Linked DNA regions of Homo sapiens: region 1 is linked to region 2. The links are contacts of gene promoters, found by promoter capture Hi-C in human tissues and cell types (Jung and others, 2019). All regions are on one chromosome and are shown on one strand. Each heading gives the region's core, a stretch centred on a gene start or on the middle of the fragment in contact. The rest is flanking DNA. Distances are from core to core; before and after follow the strand shown.

Region 1 (6,776 bases), core at 405-2,904, 680 kb before region 2:
AGGGACTTTTTGCTCATTAATGTGTTCCAATAACCCAGAATAGTGCCTGGCACACAGTAAATGGTCCATAAGAATGCATTGTGGAATAAATGCATTAGCAAGAACCAGTTTATAAAAATAGTGTCAAATAAAAATAATTTTCTGTTAATTTAGAAACTTAAAATTTGAGCCCCAATCTTCAACGTTCAGTTAAAAAATGTGAAATTTTTTTCTAGTTCAGGATTTATGTAAATAAAATCATGAAGGTTCTAAAAGATGATGAATTTGGCACTTTCATTATGTAAATCTTTTTTTAAAAAAGAAACACAGGTCCTAAAAGGGACCTTGCTACAGTTCAGTATGAGTTTGTGATGTGAGGGGATGCTATTTTAAATTAATTAAAGTTCTAGGTTTAGATTCAGATTTTTTAAGTTCCTATTATTTATTATTAAAGTTTTAGTTTCAGCACGTGGCACAAAATTAGATTGCCAAACACAATAAACAATATCATCCCAGGTAGTTTTAAGTGTCTGCTCTGCTATAATCACTGTTAAAATACTTAAGCTATTTTTGAGTCTACATAATTTGCGGTGCCGACCTTCTCTAGTTATATTAATGACAATCTCTAGTTAAATATTAATACAACTAGATACAATTAATCTTTAGTTATATTAATGACAATTCACCATTTTGTCTTCTGTAATCTTTACTTATTGTATAAAATTATTGTATACAATTATTGTATAAACTTATTGTATAAAATTGCAGGCCTATTACTTCTTACAATTTTTACTCAGAAACATACTCCTTATTTTAAAAGTACAGAAACTCAGATAAAAATTATTGATTTGCTAGAAATTTTTGTGAGTTAAGGAAGAAGTAGGGACCAACATTTACGGGAATAACCGACCGTCACAAATAACTGCAGAGAATCTGACAAAGAAGGAAAAATCAACGGGAACAAATTACTCCGAGGCTCGGCCTGGGAAAGGACCATACAATTGTCGGAGCCCCAGATCTCACCCCCTCTCCCCAGGCACCAACAGGGCTGGCTGGAAGGGTCCGGCTGGGGACCGAATCAGCACCTAAAGCAAAATAACAGCTCTGTGGATTTCCTAAGGAGAATATCCTAAATCCAAGGCAGAGGCCTTAGGGCCCCGAGAGTGGCACAAGAACGGGGCGCTGGGGCGCGTCACTCCACCCCCCGGGTCCCGTTTCCTCCCACCGCTGTGAAACCCGCGGCTCAGACAGATGGGTACGTCCCCCCCAGCGCTCGCTCAGGGGGCGCCACACACCGGAACACAAGACACAGGAACCGAACACCAATCAGCCGACTTTAGGGGCGGGCCGGACGCCCAGCCGGTCCCACCTCGCGGGGAGCTGGGCCCGCCCTGCGCCCGAGCGCGCCGCAGGCCTCACCGCTTTCTGACTGGAAATGCGGCTGAGGCGCTGGCGCGGGCCGGCGGCCTGGAGACGCCTGGTGACCAACAACTCGCCGCGCCCGTCCGCTGCCTGCCCGGCAGACGGCTCTAGAGATCGACCGCTGCCCGGACGGCTCGGCTGGGTCCCCACTTCCCCGCGGGCGTCGGGCCCCCGTCCCCACCTTCCCCGCGGGCGTCCGGGCCCCTCTCCTCACCTCCCTGCGGACAGCTCCTAGGCCAGTCGAGCGCCGATTTATCAGCCCCTCTGAGGACCGCCAAGCCTGGCTAAGCCGAGCTCCAAGCAATGGATCGCCCAAGCCCCCAACCTCTCCCTTCCTACCTTTTTTTCTCCGAAAGTTTATAACTGGTTTTGAATATATCTCTTGCAGTTTACTGTGTCTATTCTCTTTAAATACAGCTCCTAATCCTGGGTTCTAAGGGTCTACTAAATGGTACCCTTTCCCTAAGCTAACCTGCTTCTCTACCCCCACAACCACCACTCCACAAACATACCCCAACCTGCCTTTCTCATCAAAGTTAGCCAGGCCTCAGCTCTGGGACTTCCGGTCTCTTCGTACCTAAAAAGTGTTTTACCTATATTATTTATAAAATATCACAGTGGCACTCATGAGGTCGGTATTACTGGGGAACTTGATTCAGAAATAAAGTTAAATTTCAGAAATAAATATTCTAAAACACAATGATATTTAAATGTGTTTAGCCAACATGAATTTATAAAAACAGGGCAATAATGTGTTCTTAGGCTGTAAACATGAACAAACTATAAATTATCCTTTTAAGTTTCTTTAGAATTGTCCTCTGAAGATTTGGCAGGGAATGTTTTGTAGATGATAAAATAGCAACGAATCAATGATGCTTTTCTTACAGAGACATTTATCTTTCCTTTGGAAACCCCCACCTGTGACATCTAGGGCCAACCTACTGCTGTCTGACTGCCCTATTCCTGTTCTCTTTTTTCTTGCAGTTCTACTGTTCATTAGCTATATGACCTTGGAAAAGACCCAACCTTTAAGTCTTAATTCTGCATCCTCAGTGATACTCATAAGCTCTAACTCCTAGATACTGCTGCAAGGGTTAAATAAAATAATATTTGCAGTAGTCCTACCACACAGTAAATGCTCATGAATATTAATTTCTTTCACCTTCTCTGAAATGTAAAATTATTCCAGTAATTGGGTGAGCCAGTTATTTGGATACTGATAAAATAACAAGTCTTTGTCTCTTGGAGAAAATAACATTTTGACTGCATAAACTATTCTTAATAGAAAGGTTGAATTATCATTCCTCTCAAAAATACTGGAGAGGAAAGTTACTTTCCATAGACTGCATAGAGGAAAATAACGAAACAGTGCATTTGTTATAGTGAACCCCTCAATGTGTTGAAATTCATACATTGAATTCTAACCCCCGATGTGATGATATTTGAACGTGGGACTTTTGTGAGGTAATTAACTCAAAAGGGTAGAGCCTTCATGAGTAGGATTGTGCCCTTTTAAGAGGCCAGAGAGTTAGCTCGCTCTTTTCCTACCATGTGAGGATACAGGAGGACGGTATCTGCAAGCCAGGAAGGAGGCCCTCGCCAAATACCGGATCTGCCTGCACTGTGATCTTGGACTTCTCAGGCACCAAAATTGTGACAAATGTTTGTTGTTTAAGCCACCCAGCCTATGGTAATTTGTTATAGCAGCTTGAACTAAGATAGGGTTTGAGTGATAGAATTGTAGAATTCAGCAACAGGCAGGTACAGGGGAGTCTTACTGTCAAAGCACACAGTAGCAAATGGCCACCATGTTCATAAACAAAAACATTCATTCATTCACTCACTCATTTATTCAAGAATGCATGTGGAATCTATAGAGCCTTACTTTCTCTTAAAATAATGTAATAAAAATGTCAAAGCTGCAGTTTTTAAAAGGAAGCCTCAGGACAGTGATAAAGTTACTAAAAATCCCATTTTGGGGGGAGGGATTACCATGGTTTTTAGTAATGTTGCCACATTTCTCAAGAAAACATTTTAATCCTAAAGATTTAATTTTACAACCAGTGCAACAATGTCATAAGCAATCCTCCAAATTGAATAACATAACTAACATTTGAAATATAGTCTTCCCGGTCAACTTCTGGCATGACTGCATAAAGAGCTTTGCTACCTCACTTCTCAGTGAAACTGGTGAAAATTCTAGAAAAATGACTCAGACCCTCTGGAAATGATCCTAAGGGCAAACAGCAAAAGAAGAAACATCTTTTCAAGAAAGAGATACAAAAATTTGGTAAGAAAGGCAAGGCTCTGTGGTATTTTATCCAAGACTCCCAAGTTCCAGCTTAGCAAGACAGGCTCCATTCTAGACAGCTGCAGCCAAGAATACAGAGCTCTCTCTGCACCCAGCTCCCACTAGAAGGCGCGCTTTCTTTCTTTCATTGTGGTAAAACATGCGTAATATTTATAATTTTAACCATATATAAGTGTATAATTCAGGGACATTAAATACACTCATAGTGTTGTATAACCATCACTCTTATCCATACCCAAAACTTTTTCATTATCCCCAACAAGAAATTTGTGCCCATTCAGGGAGGGGAACTTCACACACTGGGGCCCGTTGGGGGGTGAGGGGCTGGGGGAAGGATAGCATTGGGAGAAATACTTAATGTAAATGACGAGTTGATGGGTGCAGCAAACCGACATGGCACATGTATATCTATGTAACAAACCTGCACGTTGTGCACATGTACCCCAAAACTTAAAGTATAAGAAAAAAAAAAAGAAATTTCTGCCCATTAAACAGGAACTCCTTCTTTTCCCCTTTCCCTAATTCCTGGTAACCTCTATTCTACTTTCTATTTCTATGAGTTTACCTATCCTAAGTACTTCATATAAGTGGGATCATACAATATTTGTTCTTCTATTTCTGGATTATTCACTTAGCATAATGTTTTCAATGTTCATCCATGTTGTAGCATGGATCAGAATTTTACTCCTTTTTAAGGCTCAATAATATTCTATTGTATTTATATACCACATTTTGTTTATCCATTTGTAATCCTGGCTAAGGGACATTTGAGTTGTTTCCACATTTCCACCTTTTGGCTATTGTGAATAATGCTTCTATGAACATTCGTGTGTAAATATCTCCGTTCAAGTCCCTGCTTTCAATTCCTTTGGATATGTACCTAGGAGTGGAATTGCTGGGACATATGGTAATGCTATTACAGCCAATGCCATGAGTTCTAGCTGATGTATCCAACATAACCAAAATTTTCTTCACTTTGTAACATCCACATCTTTTACACCCTGATTAGTCAGTAGAAATTGATATTGAAAAATTAGTCTCAGGCTGGGCAACACAGCGAGACTTCATCTCTACCAAAATTTTAAAAACTAACCAGGTGTGGTGGTGTGTGCCTGTAGTCCTAGCTGCTTGGCAGGCTGAGGCAGGAGAATGGCTTGAACCAAGGAATTCCAGGCTGCAGTGAGCTGTGATCCCACTACTGCACTCCAACCTGGGCAATAGAGCAAGATCCTGTATCTAAAAAAGCAAGAAAGAAAAAAGAAAAATTAGTGTTGATGGCTCTAGAGAAGCAGGAACCAAGAAATGTTGAGGTTTCAAGACTATTTTTCTGCAGATGACAGCCAGAAATGTGTTGTGTTTTTTATTGTCAGATTTGGACAAGAAACAGTGAAGAGATCATTTGGGAAGAATCTGAGAATTACAAAATTAATTTCTGAGAAAAAAACAGAAAAAAAGGAAATAAAGGTAGTTTGATATGATGGGATTCTCAGGAGGAAAGAAAAGTTTAGGGAGTTAGGGCCAATTCAGTAGATACTTAAATAACAAAAGGAAGACTGAATTAAGCACAAACCAAAAAAAAAAAATCTTTCTGTTCTTTCTTTCTTTTTCTTTGTTTCTCTTTTCTTTCTTTCTTTCTCTTTTCTCTCTTCCTCCCTTCCTCCCCTTCCTTCCTTCCCTCCCTCCCTCCCTTCTTTTTTCCCCTTCCTTCCTTTCTTTCCCTCTTTCTTTCTCTTTCTTTTCCTTCTTTCTTTCCTTCCTTCCTTCTTTCCTTCTTTCTTTCTTTCTTTCTTTCTTTCTTTCTTTCTTTCTTTCTTTCTTTCTTTTTCTTTCTTTCTTCAGGGTCTTGCTCTGTTGCCCAAGCTAGAGGGCAATTATGTGATGCCTCACTGTAACCTCATGGCTCACCATAACCTCAACCTCCTGGGCTCAAGCAACCCTCCTGCCTTAGCCTCCCAAGTAGCTGGGACCACACATACATACCACCACACCACACCCTGCTAATTTTTTAAAAATTATTTTTATTTTTTGTAGAGATGAGGTCTTGCTATGTTACCCAGGCTGGTCTCAAACTCGTTGCCTCAAGCAATCCGCCCACCTTGACCTCCCAAAGTGCTCAAACAGAAAAACAAGTGGCTTTGAAGAAATATATTAGTACCAGTATAAACATTACTGGTGTGAGCCACCATGCCTGGCCAGGATAATTTTTCTTTAGGAAAGATTTAGTAAGTATGTATGTAACCAAGAACATAATGACATAAATTGATTAGAAAGCAATTCCTTGAGTTCCAAATGGCTAAGGAGAGTGTTTAATGGTGTTGTATAAGATCCTATACTCTTATTTCAGGAAATCTGTTTTTTTTTTTCTTTTCAGGCAGAAATTGACTCCTCCTACCAAAATGAATTTAAAATATTTTCTGCTCTCCAAAGTCAAGAATCTTGATCCTAATAGAACTGCCAGACAGGGTGTTCCAATTAGGCCTAGAAGCAATGCACCATACAACGACAGCCAGCTAAGGTATATTACAAAGAACATAAGCTTTCCATAGAAATCAGTTGAGAAAGATTCAGCATTCAATGGCTGTTCTTTGTACTTGACTGTATAAGTAGATTCTAAAATGTGTTAACACAAACCCTGAACTAGGAAGCAAATATCCCAGTATATAAACTTGAGGACAAAGGGAAATATTCCACAACAGCATAGATTATTTCCTAAGTAAAAATTAATGCCAGTTTCTTCAGGAAGAGTATGTGGGGACTCATAACCAGTGTATGCATGTTTTATGGTTAGTTGTATTCAGGTTTGTGAGGCAAACTATACATACTTCACATTGAGTATACTAGGTTTAGTCATTCTTAGCAAATTCTTTTGCCATTATTATAAAGTCCCCGTATAAATAAGAATTAACAATTAACATATTCCTTCAGGTGGTTAGTGTCTGGAGTAGACTTTACCTGACTATTATAATTAAGATTCTGGCATCCAGAATCTTATATAAGATTGTATTAATGAAACATGCAACATATTATATCTTCAAAAAGATTATTTAAAGGAAATTTTAGAAGC
Region 2 (6,748 bases), core at 2,397-4,896:
GTGAGCCACCAAGCTCAGCCTAAACATTTTTAAAGAGGGAGAAATAATGCATCAAAAATGGGTTTGCTTTCATGAGATTAGAGTTCTTGAAAGAAGTTTTTCCTTCCAAGGCAATTTTACCTAAATTTACTTTTCTCACATTAAGATCACAGTTAAAGATGACCCTAAACCAAATTAGGAGTTTAGCCACGTTTACCTTCACAGCTCCCACCGCTAGTTCCTTAAACTCTCTTTTCCTCCTGATCAAAAATTATTTCAGGAAGAACATCTGAAAACCTCACTCACATTAAGGGATAAATGACTATAGAGATGAATTAAAATAAAAATAATGCTTTAAGTTAAATTATCTAATGGTAGAATGTGAAGCATCAATGACAAGTTTTTTTGTTTTTTTTTTTTTAGAGACAGTCTTGTTCTATTGCCCAGGCTAAGTAGTGCAGTGCTGCGATGTGATCATAACTTACTGCAGCCTCGAACTCCTGGCTTCAAGCAATCCTCCCACCTCAACCTCCCAGTGTTGGAATTACAGGCATGAGCTACCATGCCCAGCCATGTTTTGTTTTTTAAGGGAGTATTTACTCATTCTTTAATCATTTCACATAGCCGCCTAAGCTACCTTAAGTTTTTTTATTTTTATATATATATTTCTTGAGACGGAGTCTTGCTCTGTCACCCAGGCTGAAATGCAGTAGCACGATCTCGGCTCATTGCAACCTCTGCAGTGAAATGATATAGTTAAGTGATTCTCTGCCCCAGCCTCCCAAGTAGCTGGGACCACAGGCATGCACCACCACACCTGGCTAATTTTGGTATTTTTAGTAGAACCGGGGTTTCGCCATGTTGGCCAGGCTGGTCTCGAACTCCTGACCTCAGGTGATCTGCCCGACTCGGCCTTCAAATGTGCTGGGATTACAGGCATGAGCCACCAAACCCGGCCTAACTTAAGTTGTTTTAAGATAAAACATGAACCAGGAATCATTCTGTCACCCATTTCCAACCAGAGAGTAGCCTAGTTGTTACTTTATCAGGTGATAAAGAGGCCTGGTAGAAATCTGGCAGGGCTTTGAAGGGAGTCTGGTGCTAGACTACCTGGGTGGTTTTTTGATTTTTTTTTTTTTAACATGTGGATATTTAAGGTATACAACATGATGTTTTGACATACATAGTAAAATGATATAGTCAAGCACATATCATCATCACACAGTTACTGTTTTCCCTCTCACCACACATAGTTACTTTTTTTGTGGTATGATCACCTAAAATCTACTCGCTTAGCAAATTTCTAGTATACAACAAATATTATTACCTATAGTTCTCATGCTGTACATTAGATCTCTATACTTACTCATCCTACATAAATGCAACTTTGTACCCTTTGACCTACATCTCCCCCAACCACCTTTCTGTTTATGTACTTTTTAAAAGATCCTACATATGAGAGTATGCAGTATTTGTCTTTTTTCTTTTTTTTTTTTTTTGAGACAGAGTCTGGCTCTGTCGCCCAGGCTGGAGTGCAGTGGCAATCTCCGCTCACTGCAAGCTCCGCCTCCCAGGTTCACACCATTCTCCTGCCTCAGCTTCCTGAGTAGCTGGGACTACAGGTGCCCACCACCATGCCTGGCTAATTTTTTTTGTATTTTTAGGAGAGACAGGGTTTCACCGTGTTAGTCAGGATGGTCTCGATCTCCTGACCTCATGATCCGCCCACCTCGGCCTCCTAAAGTGCTGCAATTACAGGCGTCAGGCAGTATTTGTCTTTCTGTGCCTGGCTAATTTTACTTAACGTCCTCCAGCTTCATCCATGTTGTCACAAATGGCAGGATCTTCTCTTTTAAGAATGAATAATATTCCATTGTATATATACAACATTATCCGTTAATCTATCCTAGGGACAGTTAGGTTGTTTCCATATCTTAGCTATTGTGAATAATGGGGCAACAAACATGAAAGTGCAGATATCTCTATGAGGTGCTAATTTCATTTCCTTTGGGTATATACCTGAAGAGGGTTTGCTGGGTCATGTCATAGTCCTATTTTTAATTTTTTGAGGAACCTCCATACTGTTTTCCATAATGGCTGCACCAATTTACATTCCTACGAAAAGTATATGTAAATTGACTAAATTTGCCAGTCAAAATATAAATACTGCCTGGGTTATAATACACCATTATTATGGTGTAACACACCATATATTATAGTGTGATATATGACATTGTGTGACCTTGGCCAAGTTTACCTATCCTTTGTATGCCTCAGCTTCCTCATCTGTAAATAGGTCTGAAGACAGTACCTAGCTAAATGGTTGTTGTAAGGATTAACTGAGTTAAAACACACAGAGCAAATAGAGTAGCGTTTATCACATAATAAGGATTCAAATATAAGCTACTATTATGTTATCTTTGACACCCCTCGTTTCTACAGGAATAATTAAGAATCAATTATCCATCCAAGCATTTGGGAATTAATTTTAAAAAATCAATTATCCAGTTATATTTTTCAGAATTAAGATGTCTGAATATTTGAGAGGGGGCATTATCTGAAGAAATGGTTACCTCTTGGCCAATCTTATGGTACAAATACAAAGTCCATATATTCCCCTCCCCGCCTCCTTTTTTTTTTTTTTTGTTTGGTAGAGACAGGGTCTCCTTATGTTGCCCAGGCTGGTCTCTAATTCCTGGGCTCAAGTGATCCTCCCGCCTTGGCTTCCCAAAGTGCTGGGATTACAGGTGTGAGCCACCGCAACCTGGCCAATGTATTTTCCAAGCAATTACTATTCTTCACCTTGTGTGTAGAGTTTGTGAATGAAACAGATTTTTTTTTTTTTTTTTTTTTTTGAGACAGGGTCTTGCTGTGCTGTTCAGGCTGGAGTGCAGTGGTGCAATCATGGCTCACTGCAGCCTCGACCTCCCGGGCTCAAGCCATCATTCCGCCTCGCTTCCCAAGTAGATGGGACTTGCCCGGCCCGAAGCGGAACTACTGAGTTTCCTTATTTTGGAGGCAGTAATCAAATAAAAAATACCAAAACCTTAAATGATAATCAGTTTGCTACTTTATTTGGGACAAAAGAGAATTCTATATTTCATCCATCCATCACTTCACTGCTCAAAGACTTTGCCCCTTACCTATTTCTCCCTTCTTGGTCATAAATGTTAGGGCTTTATATGCAAAGCCCTGTGCTTTCTCCGATCAAGTCCAAAAGCTTGTATGAGCCACTCCTTGGATAAGAAGGGGATGGGGCCTTCTAGATGCTGTAAGTATCTCTTATATTGAACTCAGAATTGTTCTGACTGGCAGTTTATGAAGTTCTTCCCCTACTCCTCCCATCGCCAATTTTTCTTGCCCCAAACATTTATACCTCAGGGTTAAGAAGCCAGGTAAGTGAGGGGGTGTGACTCGCCCAGTCTTTCGTTGGAAAAAAGTGTAGACCTGTCAGGAAGACACAGCATAGAAAGGCTGCATGTGCTGATTTGAACTCGAGCCTCAGTAAAACATTGAAATGAATGAACACCAACCGGAAGGGAAAGAAGAGGGGAGGGGATAAGGAGCCTGAGGATTGGTTTGCCCCGCGGGATGGTCCGCGCCTGAGCCATGGGAGGCGGGGTGCCCGCCGGCAGAAGTAAACAGAGCGAGTACGCCTGCGCACGCTCTTCCTGGGTCAAGAGCCGGCTCGGTTCTGGGATTCTGAGGCTCCCCACCGCGGTCCGGCTTCTCTGGGAGACTGTCTACAAACCGACGAGAGGCGTCAACCTTTTACCCTAGGGGGCGGATTTGGGTAGGAGCCGAGCGTTCGGTCGGAAACGCCCCCTTCTTCCTCCTGGGCGGGGCAAGTGAGGCCAAGTACTGGGCCTCCAGGGCGTCGTACCTCTGTGAGACATGGCTCGCTGTGGGGAAGGCAGTGCGGCCCCCATGGTACTTCTGGGGTCCGCTGGAGTTTGCAGTAAGGGGTTGCAAAGGAAGGGGCCGTGTGAGCGGCGCCGGCTGAAGGCGACGGTGTCGGAGCAGCTCAGCCAGGATTTGCTCAGGTAGGAGGAGGCGGGAACTCTGGCTGCTTCAGTTCCTAAATCGCCCACCTCCGCCCCGAAGCTGAGGCTTCTTTCGGCTCTGCCTCCCCCTCCCTCAGCACTTGGTTCTCCTCGCCTCAGGCGACTGCGGGTCGTTAGCCAGTCTCCCCACTATTCCGAAAAGTGGCTTCGCTCGCCCTGAATAAACAATCCCGAGCACCTCGACACCATGTACCAGATTCAAAAGGAAAACAAAAAAAGCTTAGTCGTGTGCAGCACTAGTTTGCTAGAAATATCTCAACACAGGCACGCTTAGTTGTTTCCAATCACTAAGGTCGGGTGGATCCAGGTCCTGAAACTTACACAATTTTTAAAATAAGCTTATACTATTTTAAGAAAAATAATAAAATTAGGAAAACGATTATTTGAAATGAGGAAAGAACAATACTATAGTCTTGGAGGTCTCTTCTGAGGTCTCTTTAAACAATTTACCAGAAATGCTTCCTGATTGCGACCTGGATTCCTCTCTCCACCTAGAGCTCTCTGTAGCTCCCAGCAACTCTCAGCTCCTGTGAGGACCAAAGCAAATGGAGGGTCTTCCTGACATTTAACCTTTGTAAGCCTCATGGATATCCTTCTCGGGTTATTGGGAATCCAGCTAAAGTAATTTCAGCTTACAAAGAAATTGAAGCTTAGAAATATGACCTAGCTAATTTACATTTCCAGCAAGACATTGATTCTTAAACTTGGGTGGGCATCACTGAAATTTTCCATTTCTAACAAGGCCCCAAGTGATGCTAATGCTGCTGGCTAGGGTGACTATGAGAACCACTGAGGTAAACATAATTACTAATAATTAAAAGTTGTGCAGCATTCTACTTTTTTTTTTTTGGAGACGGAGTCTCGCTCTGTCGCCCAGGCTGGAGCGCCGTGGCGCGATCTCGGCTCACTGCAACCTCCACCTCCCGGGTTCAAGCCATTCTCCTGCCTCAACCTCCCGAGTAGCTGGGATTACAGGCACGCGCCACCACGCCCGGCTAATTTTTGTATTTTTAGTAGAGACGGGATTTCATCATGTTGGCCAGGCTAGTCACGAACTCGTGACCACAAGTGATCCGCCCGCCTCGGCCTCCCAAAATGCTGGGATTACAGGCGTGAGCCACTGCGCCCAGCCAGGATTCTACATTTTGAAGTGCTTTCTGTCAAAAACTCACCCATACTTAAGGCTCCGATAGCTATAAACAGAATTTATCAAAGTAAAAAAAAAATCCCTTTAATTTGGGACTATCTACTGGGGAAGCTACTTTGTCTCTACCAGGGAGGGACTGATGAAAAAGATGGAAAAAATAATACTAAAGTTGTTAACGTTTCTAGGGTAACACATCTAATTTATATGAAGAAAATGAGGTTAAAGTATTGCTAGTGAACAATTTATCCTTATCTTAGTTACAACTGAGGGTAGGACTCAGAACTCTCAAATTCTTATTATAAACAAAGAAAAATAGATGTAGCAAGGTTTTTTTTTAAAACAAAACAAAACAAAATGCTCACCCAACCACCTTAAATGCTATACTAAATTAATTTTCTCCAAGCATAGCAATGTCATTTATTTATTCTACAAATACTAATGAAGTATCTAGCACTGACCACGTACCTAGCCCGGTACTAGGTCTTAAGTAATAAACGTTAATAAAACATTGCTTTGTTGTTTGTCCTTACACTCTAGTGAGAGAGGAAATGGCTAAATAAAAGTGATAGTTGTGGTGGGGTGAGTTGGGAAGACTTTATAGGGTGACATTTGAGTGAGCTCTTAGGGATTGGTTAAGAATTGATTAGGTAAAGATTGGGAAGGGAGAGGTAGAGGATATCTAAACAAGGGGAATAACTTTTATGGAAGCACAGAAATTTGAAAGAGCTTGATTGATTTTGAGAAAGCAAGTCGTATTAGACTCTGCCAAATAGTAAGGAACAGAGACACTCCTAGGTTACCTGACGTGACAAGATATGTAGAGAAGTGAGGAAAAGTGGGAGACAGTTTTAGCTGTCAAAAAGCCAGCTCCAATGTAGAACTGGAAAGTTGTTTGGGATATGGTAACAGTCATACAATAAGACCACATTGACAAATGGACTGTTATTCAGGGCAGTGGTAAAAAAAAAACACTAATACTTATTGCCATCCTACTATTTGCTATACACTGGGCTTACATGAAATGTTTTACTTACTTCTCTCATGAATCCTGTGAGGTAAGTCTTGTTATTCTCATTTAACACAAGAGGAAACTGAATGTTAAAAAAGAAATGATGGTGGCACCTATAGTCCCAGCTACTTGGGAGGCTGAGGCAGGAGAATTGTTTGAACCGGGGAGGTGGAGATTGCAGTGAGCTGAGATCAAGCCACTGCCCTCCAGTCTGGGCGTCAGAACAAGACTCTGTCTCAAAAAAAAAAAAAAAAAGTGGTGGAGTCAGAATAAGAACCTTGGCAATCTGGCTCCAGAGACTTTCAAATGACTTGCCCAGGGTCACATAACCAGAATATGAACCCAAGCAGTCTGCCTCCTCTACAGTAAACTGATCTTCCAGTTAACTTTGTACCTTCATCTCCTCTTCTCTCCTTACCCATTTCTTTTTCTACCATAGATTTGCTTAAGAATGCTCTTCAGTGCCATCAGTTGGTTCATGTTTATTATAGAACATCTTTGCTCAAGTTCTCCTGCTTGATTACTGCATTGGCCAGTGGCTAACCTTGG

Evidence for each region. The method cuts DNA at HindIII sites, captures the fragments that hold promoters and counts their contacts. A contact is called where the count stands out against the background at its distance.
Region 1: a contact is called between the fragment with the promoter of HFM1 here and the fragment with the promoter of BTBD8 in region 2, in 1 of the 25 tissues and cell types used here (thymus).

Annotation. Positions count from the first base shown.
Region 1 is chr1:91,403,183-91,409,958 of GRCh38, forward strand. HFM1 (helicase for meiosis 1) reads right to left here and starts at 1,655. Exons shown (of 39, transcript NM_001017975.6): 1 at 1,616-1,655. RefSeq lists a silencer at 1,250-1,629. The HindIII fragment of the contact is 20,002 bases long and covers 1-6,776 here.
Region 2 is chr1:92,076,699-92,083,446 of GRCh38, forward strand. It overlaps BTBD8 (BTB domain containing 8), which reads left to right and starts at 3,647. Exons shown (of 18, transcript NM_001376131.1): 1 at 3,647-4,022. The coding sequence starts at 3,874. RefSeq lists an enhancer at 4,920-5,587. The HindIII fragment of the contact is 3,183 bases long and covers 1,354-4,536 here.